2 separate regions of the Homo sapiens genome follow, and region 1 is linked to region 2. The links are contacts of gene promoters, found by promoter capture Hi-C in human tissues and cell types (Jung and others, 2019). All regions are on one chromosome and are shown on one strand. Each heading gives the region's core, a stretch centred on a gene start or on the middle of the fragment in contact. The rest is flanking DNA. Distances are from core to core; before and after follow the strand shown.

Region 1 (6,872 bases), core at 288-2,787, 310 kb before region 2:
TCTCTTTTTATATTTTTTTCTTGAAATCGATTTATCTGATATAAGTATAGCTACTTCTGCTCCTTTTTGGTTTCCGTTGGCATGAAATATCTTTTGCCATACCTTTATTTTCAGTCTATGTGTGTTTTTATAAATGAAGTGTGTTTCCTGTAGGCAATAGATCATTGGGTCTTAAAAAAAATCTATTCATTCACTCTTTGTCTTTTGATTGGAGAGTTTACTCCATTTACATTCAATGTTATTATTGATTAAGTAAGGACTTACTCCTGCCATTTTGTTATTTGTTTTCTAGCTGTTTTCTGGTCTTCCCTTTTAGTAAAGGTGATTTTCTCTGGTGTTATGTTTTATTTTCATGCTTTTTACTTTTTCATATCCATTGTATGTTTTTAGACTTGAGGTTGCCATGAGATTTGCAAATAATATTTTATAACACATTATTTTAAACTGATGACAAATTAACACTGATTACATAAACAAACATACTAAAAAACAAGCAAAAAGAAAACTAATAAAAACTCTATAACTTCATCTCCCCACTTTTTAACTTTTTGTTGTTTCTATTTACATCTTGCTGTACTGTCTTGAAAAGTTATTATTTTTGATTGGTTTATCTTTTCATCTTTGTACTTAAGATATCAGAAATATACACATTGCAATTATAGTGTTTTAACAGTCTGTGTTTTTCTCTGCACCATTACCAGTGAACTTTTCACCTGCAGATGATTTCTTATTGCTCATTAACATCCTTTTATTTCAGACTAAATAAATCCCTTTAGCATTTTTGTTTTGTTTTGTTTTGTTTGAGATGGAGTCTCACTCTGTCACCCAGCATGGAGTGCAGTGGTGCGATCTCGGGTCACTGCAAGCTCCGCCTCCCAGGTTCATGCCATTCTCCTGCCTCAGCCTCCCAAGTGGCTGGGACTACAGACGCCCGCCACTACGCCCAGCTAATTTTTTTTTTTTTTTAGTAGAGACGGGGTTTCACCATGTTAGCCAGGATGGTCTCGATCTCCTGACCTTGTGATCCGCCTGCCTCGGCCTCCCAAAGTGCTGGGATTACAGGCGTGAGCCACTGCGTCTGGCCAGCATTTCTTGTACGATAGGTCTGGTATTGATGAAATCCATCAAGCTTTTGTTTGTCTGGGTAAGTCTTTATTTCTCCTTCATGTTTGAAGGATTTTTTTTTTTTTTTTTTTTTTTTTTGAGACAGAGTCTCACTCTGTCGCCCAGGCTGGAGTGCAGTGGCACAATCTCAGCTCACTGCAACCTCTTGCCTCCCAGATTAAAGCGATTGTCCTGCCTCAGCCTCCCAAGTAGCTGGGATTACAGGCGTCTGCCACCATGCCTGGCTAATTTTTATATTTTTAGTAAAGACGGGGTTTCACCATCTTGGCCAGGCTGGTCTTGAACTCCTGACCTCAAGTGATCCACCTGCCTCAGCCTCCCAAAGTGCTCGGATTACAGGCATGAGCCACCGCACCCAGCCTGAAGGATATTTTTGCCATATATGCTATTTAAGTTTTTTCCCTTCAACACTTTAAGTATGTCATGCCACTCTCTCCTGGCCTGTAAGGTTCTCACCAAAAAGTCTGCTGCCAGACGTACTGGAGCTCTATTTTATGTCATTTGTTTATCTTGCTACTTTTAGGATCCTTTCTTTATTCTTGACTTTTGAGAGTTTGTTATTAAATGCCTTGAGGTAGACGTCTTTGGGCTAAATCTGCTTGGTGTTCTATAACCTTCCTGTACTTGAATATTTATATCTTTCTCTAGGTTTGGGAAGTTCTCTGTTATTATCCCTTTAAATAAACTTTCTACTGCTGTCTCTCTCTCTACCTCCTCTTTAAAGCCAGTAACTCTTAGATTTGCCCCATTGAGGCAATTTTCCAGATCTCGTAGGCAAGCTTCATTCTTTTTTACTCTTTCTTTTGTCTCCTCTGACTGTTCTTTCTTGCTTGCTTTCTTTTCTCGCTCTCTTGCTTTCTTTTTTTGAGACAGGGTCTGGCTCTGTCATCCAGGCTGGAGTGCAGTGGGGCAATCTTGCCTCACTGCAACCTCTGCCTCCCAGGCTCAAGCCATCCTCCCAGCTCTAACTGTGTATTTTCACATAGCCTCTTAAAGTTTACTATTTCATTCTTCTACTTGATTAATTCTACTATTAGGAGATTCTGATGCATTCTTCAGTAAGTCAATTGCATTTTTCAGCTCCAGAATTTCTGCTTGACTGTTTTTAATTATTTCAATTTGTTTGTTAAATTTATCTGATAGGATTCTGAATTCCTTCTCTGTGCTATCTTGAATTTCTTTGAGTTTCCTCAAAACAGCTATTTTCAATTCTCTGTTTGAAAGATCACATATCTCTGTTTCTCCAAGACTGGCCCCTGGTGCCTTATTTAGTTCACTTGGTGAGGTCCTATTTTCCTGGATGGTCTTGATGCTAGTGGATGTTTGTAGGTGTCTGGCCATTGAAGAGTTAGGTATTTATTGTAGTCTTTGCAGTCTGGGTTTGTTTGTACTCATCCTTCTTGGGGAGGCTTTCCAGGTATTCAAAGGACGTGGGTGTTGTGATCTAAGTTTTTGGTCACTGCAGCTGTATCTGCATTAGGGGGCATACCAAGCCCAGCAATGCCGTGGTTCTTGCAGATTTGTAGATGCACCACCTTGATGGTCTTAGATCACATCTGGAAGAATTCTCCGAATTACTTGTTCTCTTCCCTATCTCCCAGATGAATGCAATCTCTCTATATATCTATAAATATATAGACATAGACATAGACATAGACATAGACATAGACATAGACATAGACATAGACATAGACATAGAGATATACACCTGGCTGGGCTGCCTGGAGATTGGGGAGGGGTGACACCCCTGTCACTATCACCACTGGGACTGCACTTGGTCAGATCTGAAGCCAGCACACCACTGAGTTTTGCCCGAGGCCTGCTATAACCACTAGCTGACTACTCTCTATGTTCAATCAAGGCCCTAGGGCCCTACAATTAGCAGGTGGCAAAGACTGCCAGGCTTGTGTCCTTCCCTTAAGGGCAGTGAGTTCTCTTGGGCCCCAGGCAGGTCCAGAGATGCTATCTGTGAGCCAGGGCCTGCAATCGGAAGCCCTAGAAATCTGCCTGGTGCTCTATTCTACTGCGGTTAAGCTGGCAACAAAACCACAAGATAAAGTCCTTCCCACTCTTCCCTCCTCTTTCTCCAGGCAGAGGACTCTCTCCCTGTGTCCAGTACCACCACAGGCCCATGGGGAGTGCTGCCAGAGCGCCACCAATGTTCACTTAATGCCCAAGGACTCTTTAGTCAGCTTGTGGTGAATGCTGCCAGTCCTGGGACTCTCTTCAGGGCAGTGAGCTCCCCTCTGGCCTGGGGTAGGTCCAGAAATGCTATCCCAGAGCCAAGGCCTGGAACTGGGGACCCCAAGGGCCCAGTTGGTGCTCCCCCTATGTCTGAGCTGGTATCTAAGCTGCGAGACACAGTCCCCTTTATTCTTCCCTCTCCTTTACTCAAGCAGAAGGAGTCTCTCCTCGTTAACCACCACAGCTGTGAATGTGCTGGATCCCATCTGAAGCCAGCAGGTCTCAGAGTCTCACCCAAGGCCCATGGTATGTACTACCTGGTTACCACTGCTGATTATTCAGGGTCCAGGGGCTCTTTCGTCAGCAGGTGATGATTCCTGCCATTACTGGGTCCTTCCCTTCAGGGCAGTAGGCTCCCTTCTGGCCCAGGGTGTCTAGAAATGTCATCTAAGATCTAGGGCATGGAATGGGGGCCTCATGACTCTGCCTGGTGCCTTATCCTACCGTGACTGAGCTGGTACCCAAGTTGCATGACAAAGTCCTCTTTACTCTCCTCTCCTCTAACAGAAGGAGGGGGTCTCTTTTGGAGCTGTGAGCTGCGCTGCCTGGGTTTGGGGGATAGGGGATGCAAGTGCTCCCTGAGCCACCCTGGCTGGTGTCTCATTAGGTCATGTAACCCCCAAGTCCACTGGCTCTGAGCCCAGCACAGCACTAGGACTCACCTGGGTGTTGCAGTCCTTGTGGCCTGGTTTATTTAGAACCCAGAACACTTTAACCTATGGTAACAAGGCTTGCTGGAACTCAAGTTCTGACTGCTGAGATGGGTGATTCTCCTCTGTCTAGGCTGGTCTAAATGCTCCCTCCGTGGGCATCGGCTGAGTTCTACCCACTGCTGGCAGCAATGAGTTCCAATGCAAAGTCCCACAACTGCTGCACTCTCCTTTCCCCGTCACACAGGTTCTCTCTGAGCACCATGTGGCCACCGCCACAGGGATGGAGTCAGTGATCAAGACTGTCTTTCCTACCCTCTGCAGTGCTTCTTTCGGTAATATGAAGTTAAAACCAGGTACTGTGATCGCTCACCTGATTTTTAGTGCCCACGAAGGTGCTTTTTTGGTGTAGATCGTTGTCAAATTTGGTGTTCTTGTGAGGAGGATGGTTGGTGGAGGCTTCTGTTTGGCCACCTTGCTCCACCTCCAGCCTAACCATAAAAACCTTTTATGCCACATTGGTCCTCCTCATTCCCTAAAACTTGTTTTATGTAACACTTTAAATCTTCTGCCTCATTATAAAAGCCTTTTTAAAAATGTCTTCATGCTTCTCTTCTAAGGTACCGTTTCCTTTATCCTTTTCTGGCTACTGGTTTGTTTGTTGTTTGTTTGTTTTTAATACTTTTTTCCAGACACAGAATCCAGACCAGTTCCTGCTATTTTCCAACAGAAATCTCAAATTATGTTTCTCATTCCCACACCCCTCCGCTTCCTCTCACCCCTGCCCCTGCGACCTCTCTGACAGGTTTCCCTACCTCCTACCTTCCCCACTGCCCCATTCTGTTATACCTCCAGAATTGTTTTCCAAATAGAGAAATTCGTTTTTCTCTCTCCCTGGCTTCAAGACCTCCGACGACTCGTCGCTCCCTTAGTTACAGTCCGAATCCTCTAGCAAGGCCTCTAAGCCGCTGCAATAGTGGTTCTGGCCCCGTCCCCCGACCTCCCCGCCTCGTGTGACTGGGCAGCACTGAACCAGGCAGTCTCCCGTCTACTGGCCACACCTGGATGACCTACATCCTTGCATGCCTGTACTTGCTCTTCCCACCGTCTGTAATTACCTCTCCCAGCCCCCATCTGCCTGGTAAGATCCTATCCAGTTTTCCAATCCTCCCCTCCAGCCTTCCCACAGCCTCCCACAATTCACCAGGCCCTTCCTAACACCCTGCATCGCATGGGGGCTCCACTCACCCTGTCTGACTCACTTTTCAGGGCTCTGTTTCTCTATCGGCTGCATGGGGCACTCCTCGTAGGCAGAGGCCGTGACTGCTCTGTGCCCTGTATCCAGCCACTGGCCACATGACAGGCCACCCATACATCCATACAGGTTTGCTAAACTAAGTGAACTGCACTTTGGGCAAGTAACTAAACCTCTCTGAGCCCCAGTTTCTTCGTGGGTAATACAGGACTGTCACCACATGCTTCCTGTGGTGTCTGTCAGGGCCATGTGGAACACACATTGAGCCCGGGGGTTGCCACACTGTGCTTACTCCTAAGTGTTAGCACCAAACCTCCTCCCAGTCCCCGAAATGCCTTCTCCCCACAGATCAGTTTTCACTCCTAAGCCAGCTTTTCCCTCCCTCCAAATCATCCCTATCCGTTCGAATTACACAGGAAGCTGGAAGCTGACAAGAGGGTTCTCGCAGAAGGGAAGGCCTCTGTGTTCACTAAGCAGGAAGAGAAAGAACGGATCTGCGCAGGCATACACGCAGAGCAGGGCTGCTGCAGCCAAACTAAGGGAGATGAAGAGCTATCCTCAGCCAGCTCACTCCCTACTGGCCCCATCTCACCCCAAAGCTTCACAGGAGACAACTGCATCCCATCAGCATGAATAGACTTCTGAGGACAAACTGTACTCAGTACATTGTTCCAGACGCTGTGCTGCCAAGCCTGCACCCATGAATATTTCATATAATAAATCTGCTTAAAGATAAATGAGTATGCTTCATGGAATAGACTTTATGCAGCAAGAGGCAAATCACAGACCCTGCAAGTGTGAATCAAAATACCCAGGCCTCCCAAAGACTAAAACAGGTTTGCAAACTAACCTTCCCAAGGATGGGCTGGCACCTGTCATACTCTGGGGTCCTTTGCCCAGACCAGGGGCTGATGCCTGGCAGTGCGGCAGGGGGCAGCAAAGCAAGAGTGAAGAGAGGAAATGAGAGGGATGGGGGAGAGAAAAGGCCACCCCTTCGACCTCCCCTCCTCCCTTTCAAGTCCCCCACCTCGAGAGCTGCAAGAAGAACATACAACCTGGGAAACCAGGAATATAAGATGACTTCCATACTGAAGGCAATTAGCCAATGAGAAGACACAAAACAATAGTTAATGCCAACCTGGAATATATGATTTTTAGGAATGTAGACAAAAAAGTCTGATCACGATTTGTAGGTTTTATTAATTTGTTTACATACACATACTTAAAAATCCTGTTGACTATAAAATACTATTTCCCACACCCAGCTTACAAAATAATTTCTCTTCAAACCCTTCGTGTGCATCAACAGCAATGCCTTTATGAAGCCCAGAGTCAAGCTGAGCCACCCAGAGCACGTCCTCCTCACCAGCTGTTTAGGATGTGTTGGATACGGTTCCCTGTGAATTTATGTAGAATGTTGGCATCAGAAATGTCACCCCAACCCACAAGAACCCATGTTCGTATCATGAGGGCAGTTGGGTGTTGTTTTTAATCACCTAATGACATTTCTCAAAGTAGGGTTCTTCACCGGCCTATAATCATATATTTGTAGCCATTCACTAACCTTCAGGAATATCCCACCCCAGGAATATCCTGCC
Region 2 (6,205 bases), core at 646-3,145:
CTTTTAATTCCTTTTCTTTTCTTTCCTTTTTTTTTTTTTTTTTTTTTTTAAGAGATGAGGTCTCATTATGTTGCCCAGGCTGGTCTCAAACTCCTGGGATCAAGCAATCCTCCCACCTTGGCCTCTCCAAGTGCTGAGATTACAGGCGTGAGCCACCACGCCTGGATGTTATTTATCTTTTAACTAACTTGGTTCTCCTGCTTCAGTTATGTTCTGGTGAAATTCTGTCTTCTTAATTCCATGACCTACACATCACACTCCCCCAGCACTCCATTTAACGTGGCTTAGCCCAAAGAAGTTGGAAAATTGTGTGTGAGAGAATGTAAGATTCAAGCATCCATGAGCGTGGGAGTTGCTAGACAAAAACTAAGGTCCTTTCCAGCCCCAAAAGGCCACGATTCTAACCTATGAACCTACTCAATATTTCCTTCAAGGTAACACAAATCCCTAAAATTTACCACCACCAAGCAGTAGTTCCTTTTATGGTCCTAAATAAGATCCTTTATCCAGGAATGCCCTAGGTTCCTATATTCTGAGATTTCACAAACATCCTCATTTTAGCTTCTGACTACCAATTTCAATGGTAACTTTTCTTAAGCCTTATTTTCAGAAAGTAGAGTCCTTCTATTTTTAGTATCTTGCAACGCCCAAGCCCCCGTGCACTTCTAACCCACTACAGATACTGTACTGCAACATTTTCTCCGTGCATAAACGCCTACCTTTCTTTTTTTAAAGGCTAGTATATTGTTCCATTATACAAACGTACCGTAATTAATATTTCACCAGCTCTTACTAATGGACTTCCGGTCGTTTCCAATTATATTATAAATATTACATACAATGCTCAGGTCAACAACTTTTTACATGTGTATCTTTAGCGTATGCAAGAGCAACTAAATTACCACTGGGTCATTTCAAGTTGCTCCTCTTTGAACTGTTTTGAGCTTAGATCTATCTCTGAACAGGAACAAAAACTAGAAAGCACCCAAAACTCTGGTTGCAGATGCAGAAATACAGTGTGGCACAATGCTAATGGGGGAAATGGTCTCTTCTTTGACGGATCGCCTATTAGCTTGAGACTAGATCTTAAAGGGTTCCCAAAGCAAGAAAATACACTGTAATTATCGAAGAATTTTAGATACCTCAGAGATGAGGTTAAGAAATAGTAAAAGCTTAACAGTCGAAGATCTGAAGCTTCAATTTCATTCTTTGATGTTCCCGATTACAGAAAGTTCAAAGATGATGTTTAAAAATATTATATATGCCCAAATGCTTAAAAAAAAAAAAGGAAGCATGATAAACGTCATCGCCCAGCCTTCTTAAAGATCGCTCCCACCCGCGGCTAGCCGGGCAGGAGAAGAGACTCGAGCGGCACCCGAGCCGCATCCACGCCGCCCGCCCGCCCCTGGGGTCTGGGTAGGTAACGGGCCCGGCGGGAAGGAGGGGCTCCCAGGCCGTCCCTCCCAGCGCTCACCTCAGCTCCTCGTCGACATTCCCGCGGGGCTGTTCGGCCGACGCCACCATAGAGGAAGTCGTAGAGGTCTTGTTCTTCAAGATCCCCTTGATGGGCCGGTGCGAGGCCGTCGAGGCCGCCATTGCCGGGCGCTCCGGCTGTCGGCTCAGGGTCGCTGCTTGGCGTGGGGTCCGCGAAGAGAAGGGTCGGCACAGCAGAGACTCGCAGGCAGCCGCAGATCCCGCTCAGGGCTAAAGCGGCCGCAACTGCTGCCTCGGAAACGGCTACCGCAGCGGTTGTCACGACACAACGACCCCGACGCCAGAGCCAACGCCGAACGGGTGGCGGCTACTCGCGCACCCTTAGCCACTGGCACTTGACCCGCGGCTCGCGGAGAGACGCCGGCCTAGAGCTCCAGCGCAGGAGCGACGCGACGCCGAAGCCAAGCGGACCCGCCCTCTCGCGATATCTAGGGAGGAGGCGGGGAGAGGGCGGGGCGAGAACAAAGCCGACCTCCTCGCCCCGCCCCCTCCGTCCCGCCCGGGCTGCTCGCCCCGCCCCCGCGCGGCGCTGGGAGGCGGGAGCTGTCTCTGAGAACCTGCGGGAGAGCGCCCGGGCTTGCTGCTTCCCGGACCCGCGCGTCTCTCGAGCACCCTCGTCCCACCACCTTGTGAGGCCGTAGTGTTATTTTTATTTTTTAGATCAGCAGACTGAGACTCGAGGTGACGTCACTCCGCAGAGAGGTTAGCTGACTTGAAGAAAACGGGTATCTCCTCTTTCCATTTCGCCCGTGTAAACAGCCGAACTGCCTATTATAAAAGCATGGACTGCCAGCATTGGAGTGGTCCTTAGAGGCCTATTATGAAATCATAGAATGTCTGCATTGGAATCGCCTCACCTCCTTTTACCGCTGGAGAAGCCGACGGACAGACGGGCAGCGACCCCCGCCGTCGCACAACCCGTCTAGGCAGAGAGCGCAGGAGACGGGAGGGCGGCAGGGACACATCTCCCAGCCAAGGACCTCCTGGGCCCGCAGAGGCCGCGACAGGTTCCCCCCACAGAGGGAACCAACTCTGCCGCAGGTTGATGTGGACTTCAAGCCTGCAGAACGGAGAGCCCATTTCCATTGCTTAAAGCCACCTCGTGTGTGGTATTTGTTATGGTCCCTGTACACTCCCTTCCCTCCCTCTCCCAAGTCCAGTCCGCAGCTCGCTCATCACCAGGCTCTTTTCCATGACTCTTTCTTGATCAGGCCTTTTTATCGTCCTCACCACAGGTTAGAGCACAGCAGACTGAGCCACCCAGAACTGGCCCCTCCGGTGGACCAGCCCCTGCGGATTCACAGACCACTGGTCCTGGAAGGGACCTTGTCAAGCAGGCCCATAAGGTGGCTATTCAGCCTGTTTCTCCAACAACCCCAGGGGCTAGAAGCCCGCCACACCCCCGTGTAACTCATTTTGTTTTTGGACAGCTCTGACTCTGGGAGTTCTTAGATTGAGCTGACACCTCGCTCCCAGCAATGTCTGTCCACTGCTGTGGGGGGTGAGAGGAAGCGTTTTCCCCTATCTAGCCCCTATAGCAGCAGTTTCACTCCCATGGCTCATCTCTGGACCACAGTCTCATCTTCTTTAACACAGGCTCTGTGCCTTTTGAGGATGACCCTGTTCTGTGTCCTTAGGACTCTGCCCCTCAGGGATGACTGTAGGGTTCTGAAAACGATTGTTTTTATCGTCTGGCCCCGAGCCCCTAGCTCCTAGATGAGTTCCTGGCACAGAACAGGGCCTCAGTATGGGAATGGATGTGGATGGAGATAATGGAGGGGAAGTGAGCTGGAAGGGGAGAAGGGAAACAGGGTTGCTGGTCACAGAGTGGAATGTGTTCCCCAGGGATTTGCCTCAGCCAGGGGCCTGCACAGTCACTGTTGGCACTGTCCCCACCTTTGTTCCCAGTCAAATATCCACTGGTGCCGTCTCTCCCTCCCAGGCCAGGACTGCTCAGTGGATCTAACATTACACCCTGACAGCCCTGTCCAGCCCATGGAGCAGAGAGAGAGGGTTCTCAGCGAGGGGAAGCAGGATGGCCACCTCCCTTCCCTTCCTGAGTTCTTTCCACCCCAGTGTTCAACACCTGTGTTGCGTCTCCTGCCCTGTCAGCAGGAGTCTAGGTCAGTGATGGCAATCCTGTTTTCAAGGGAATACACAAACTTCCCTGTATGTTCCAAATTATTGGGCAGATTTGCTTTGTTCCTGCTTGGGCTGGGAAGCATCACTGAGTTCAGCATCCCTGAACTCAACTGTGACTGGGCCCTTGATTAAGCAACAGCTTGCTTTCAGACCCTCTAATGAAAGGGACTACGATCGTATGACATAAAGTGTTTTATTAGTTAATTAACTAACAAACATTGGAACAGGAGGTGATGAAGAGTTCTCTGAAGAACCTTGGAAACATATTTCCCTCATCAAGAGTTAAACTTTTGTCTCCTGTACTGGTTCTTCCACTCCCAAACCCACAACAAATGAATGCAGATGAAGATGACTTTGGTAGCACTTAAAAAAAAATAGTTTGTAAAATTGTGAGGGCCAGTACTGCTTTTTTTTTTTTTTTTTTTGAGACAAAGTCTTGCTCTGTCGCCCAGGCTGGAATGCAATGGCACAATCTCCACTCACTGCAACCTCTGCCTCCTGGGTTCAAGTGATTCTCCTGCCTCAGCCTCCCGAGTAGCTGGGACTACAGGTGCCTGCCACCACACCCAGCTAATTTTTGTATTTTTAGTAGAGATGGGGTTTCATCATGTTGGCCAGGCTTGTCTCAAACTTCTGACCTCAGGTGATCTGCCCGCCTCAGCCTCCCAAAGTGCTGGGATTATAGGCATGAGCCACCACACATGGCCTGCTTTTCCTTATCTTTCAGAATAGTTGAACTACTTTATTCCTCAGTGTGGCCCAAATAAGATTTTCAAATGCCTCTAAACAGAGCTCTCCTTCTGTGCCTCTGCTGAGGTTTGCTCCTGTAGGAAGTTATCTGGACCAAACAGCCCGAGCACTGAATTTAGCTGTATTGCTGTTACATTTCCTGTGTGTTGAGGGTTTGGCTGCCAGGAGGTGAATTGTAGATAGAATCTTTCATTCTGGTTTCAGTTTCTGGAAGTAGCTATTGAGCTCAAGGCAAATCATATATTTAAAGATATATACATGATTTAAGGATAATCTGGCATTTATCTCTGCTCTCTTTTTGAAGACTTCATTATCATGGTTGCCTGACCCAACACAACATATTTGGAGGAGGAGAGGGGACACTTTTATTGTACCCCATCACGTGGCTGAGTCATTTGGCTCTCCATTCACTGGAACAGACGACTATGGACACCACCATTGGGTTTCCCACCAAGGACAGAGTTCCAAAGCAACAGTGGCTTCCATGGTTGGCTCACCCAGCCTGCCTGAGTCATCAGCTAGGTCCACAGAGTAGAGAAGTGGGTAGTGCCCCCGCCTAACATCTGGAAAAATTCCCAAAAGTTGTGACTTCATGACCACTGAGTCAGCAGCAACTCTTTTCTTGCCAAGAATAGCACATTGTTCTTTTCCTTTTCAGGTAATCCCTCCCCGGAAAGAGAAGATCACAGATTTTGTCATATTAAATACATTGTAGAAATTCATGGTAGCAGGGGCAAGATCATTTAAACAAAACAGAAAGTTTCAGAGAGAGAAAAAGCCAAGGACAAAGATTAATCATTTTTCTGCTTAAAAAAAATGGCTTTGATTTGCAACCATGGAATGCTCCACTGTTTCTCTTCTCTTCAAAGACATCTACTGAAAGGATTCCTTAACCTTACCAAGTGGCCAAAATACTTTTCTGAGAAGAGTCACAGAGCATAGGCCCCCCTAGGGTACACAGAGATTTCATTAGTCCCTAGATGTTTCCTGATCCTTTTAAAAACTGGTTAAATTCAGAGACTCTAGGCAATTACTTCTTTCAGAACCTGTGAGGCAAAAACGAAAGAAGAAGGCAGGACACGCAGTGTAACAAACCTTGGAATGGTAAGTAGGAAATATGAGTTAGTTTTTTGGCTAAGCTATGAATTTACCTTGTGCCTGCCAGAAATCACTCAGTCTTTTGTGACTGTAAATTTTCTGTAAGTGTTAATTGGTTTGGTTTATTATTGCAAGAAGCAAGGGAGCAATGTTGTGTATTATAATTTCATTGTGTCAATTTTGCCAAATTATCTTGCATTTTGTTATTCTATGAACTCATAATGGGATAAGGAGTATAGGCTTTGATTCAGAACATATGTGATGTTGCTATAAATGCTTCATGGAAAACCCTAAATATATTTTGAAGCCTACATAGTCAAAAGTCACCATTGGAAGACTTTTTTACTTTACTATTGTATTTATGCTCGTTAGCACTCATTCTTGTTTGAAACGTCTCAAATGCGTAATTTTATTATTTTATTTGTTGTCTCCAGATTGGTCTGAGGACTCCGCTTTCTTCACTGCCCATTCATCTTCATACTGTTCTCATATTTTTTTTTAAATTGGGATATGCAATGATCCTTAGTTTATAAATTCAACTCCACTTTGCCACACACAGTGTTACGCTTGGGGAAACAATTAGAACTTGCCCTTCTTGGCCAGGCGCGGTGGCTCCCGCCTGTGATCCCAGCACTTTGGGAGGCCAAGGTGGGCAGATCACGAGGTCAAGAGATGGAGACCATCCTGGCCAACATGGTGAAACCCCGTCTCTACTAAAAAT

What was found. Contacts are between HindIII fragments. The study calls those that stand out against the background at their distance.
Region 1: a contact is called between a fragment that was not itself captured here and the fragment with the promoter of PPP1R2 in region 2, in 1 of the 25 tissues and cell types used here (spleen).

Annotation. Positions count from the first base shown.
Region 1 is chr3:195,233,133-195,240,004 of GRCh38, forward strand. All of the region lies in intron 1 of XXYLT1 (xyloside xylosyltransferase 1), which reads right to left. Among named protein-coding and RNA genes, the nearest start is that of XXYLT1, 35 kb to the right of the region's middle. The HindIII fragment of the contact is 4,702 bases long and covers 1-3,888 here.
Region 2 is chr3:195,541,430-195,547,634 of GRCh38, forward strand. PPP1R2 (protein phosphatase 1 regulatory inhibitor subunit 2) reads right to left here and starts at 1,896. Exons shown (of 6, transcript NM_006241.8): 1 at 1,475-1,896. The coding sequence starts at 1,596. RefSeq lists a silencer at 1,868-2,107 and an enhancer at 4,614-4,853. The HindIII fragment of the contact is 14,684 bases long and covers 1-6,205 here.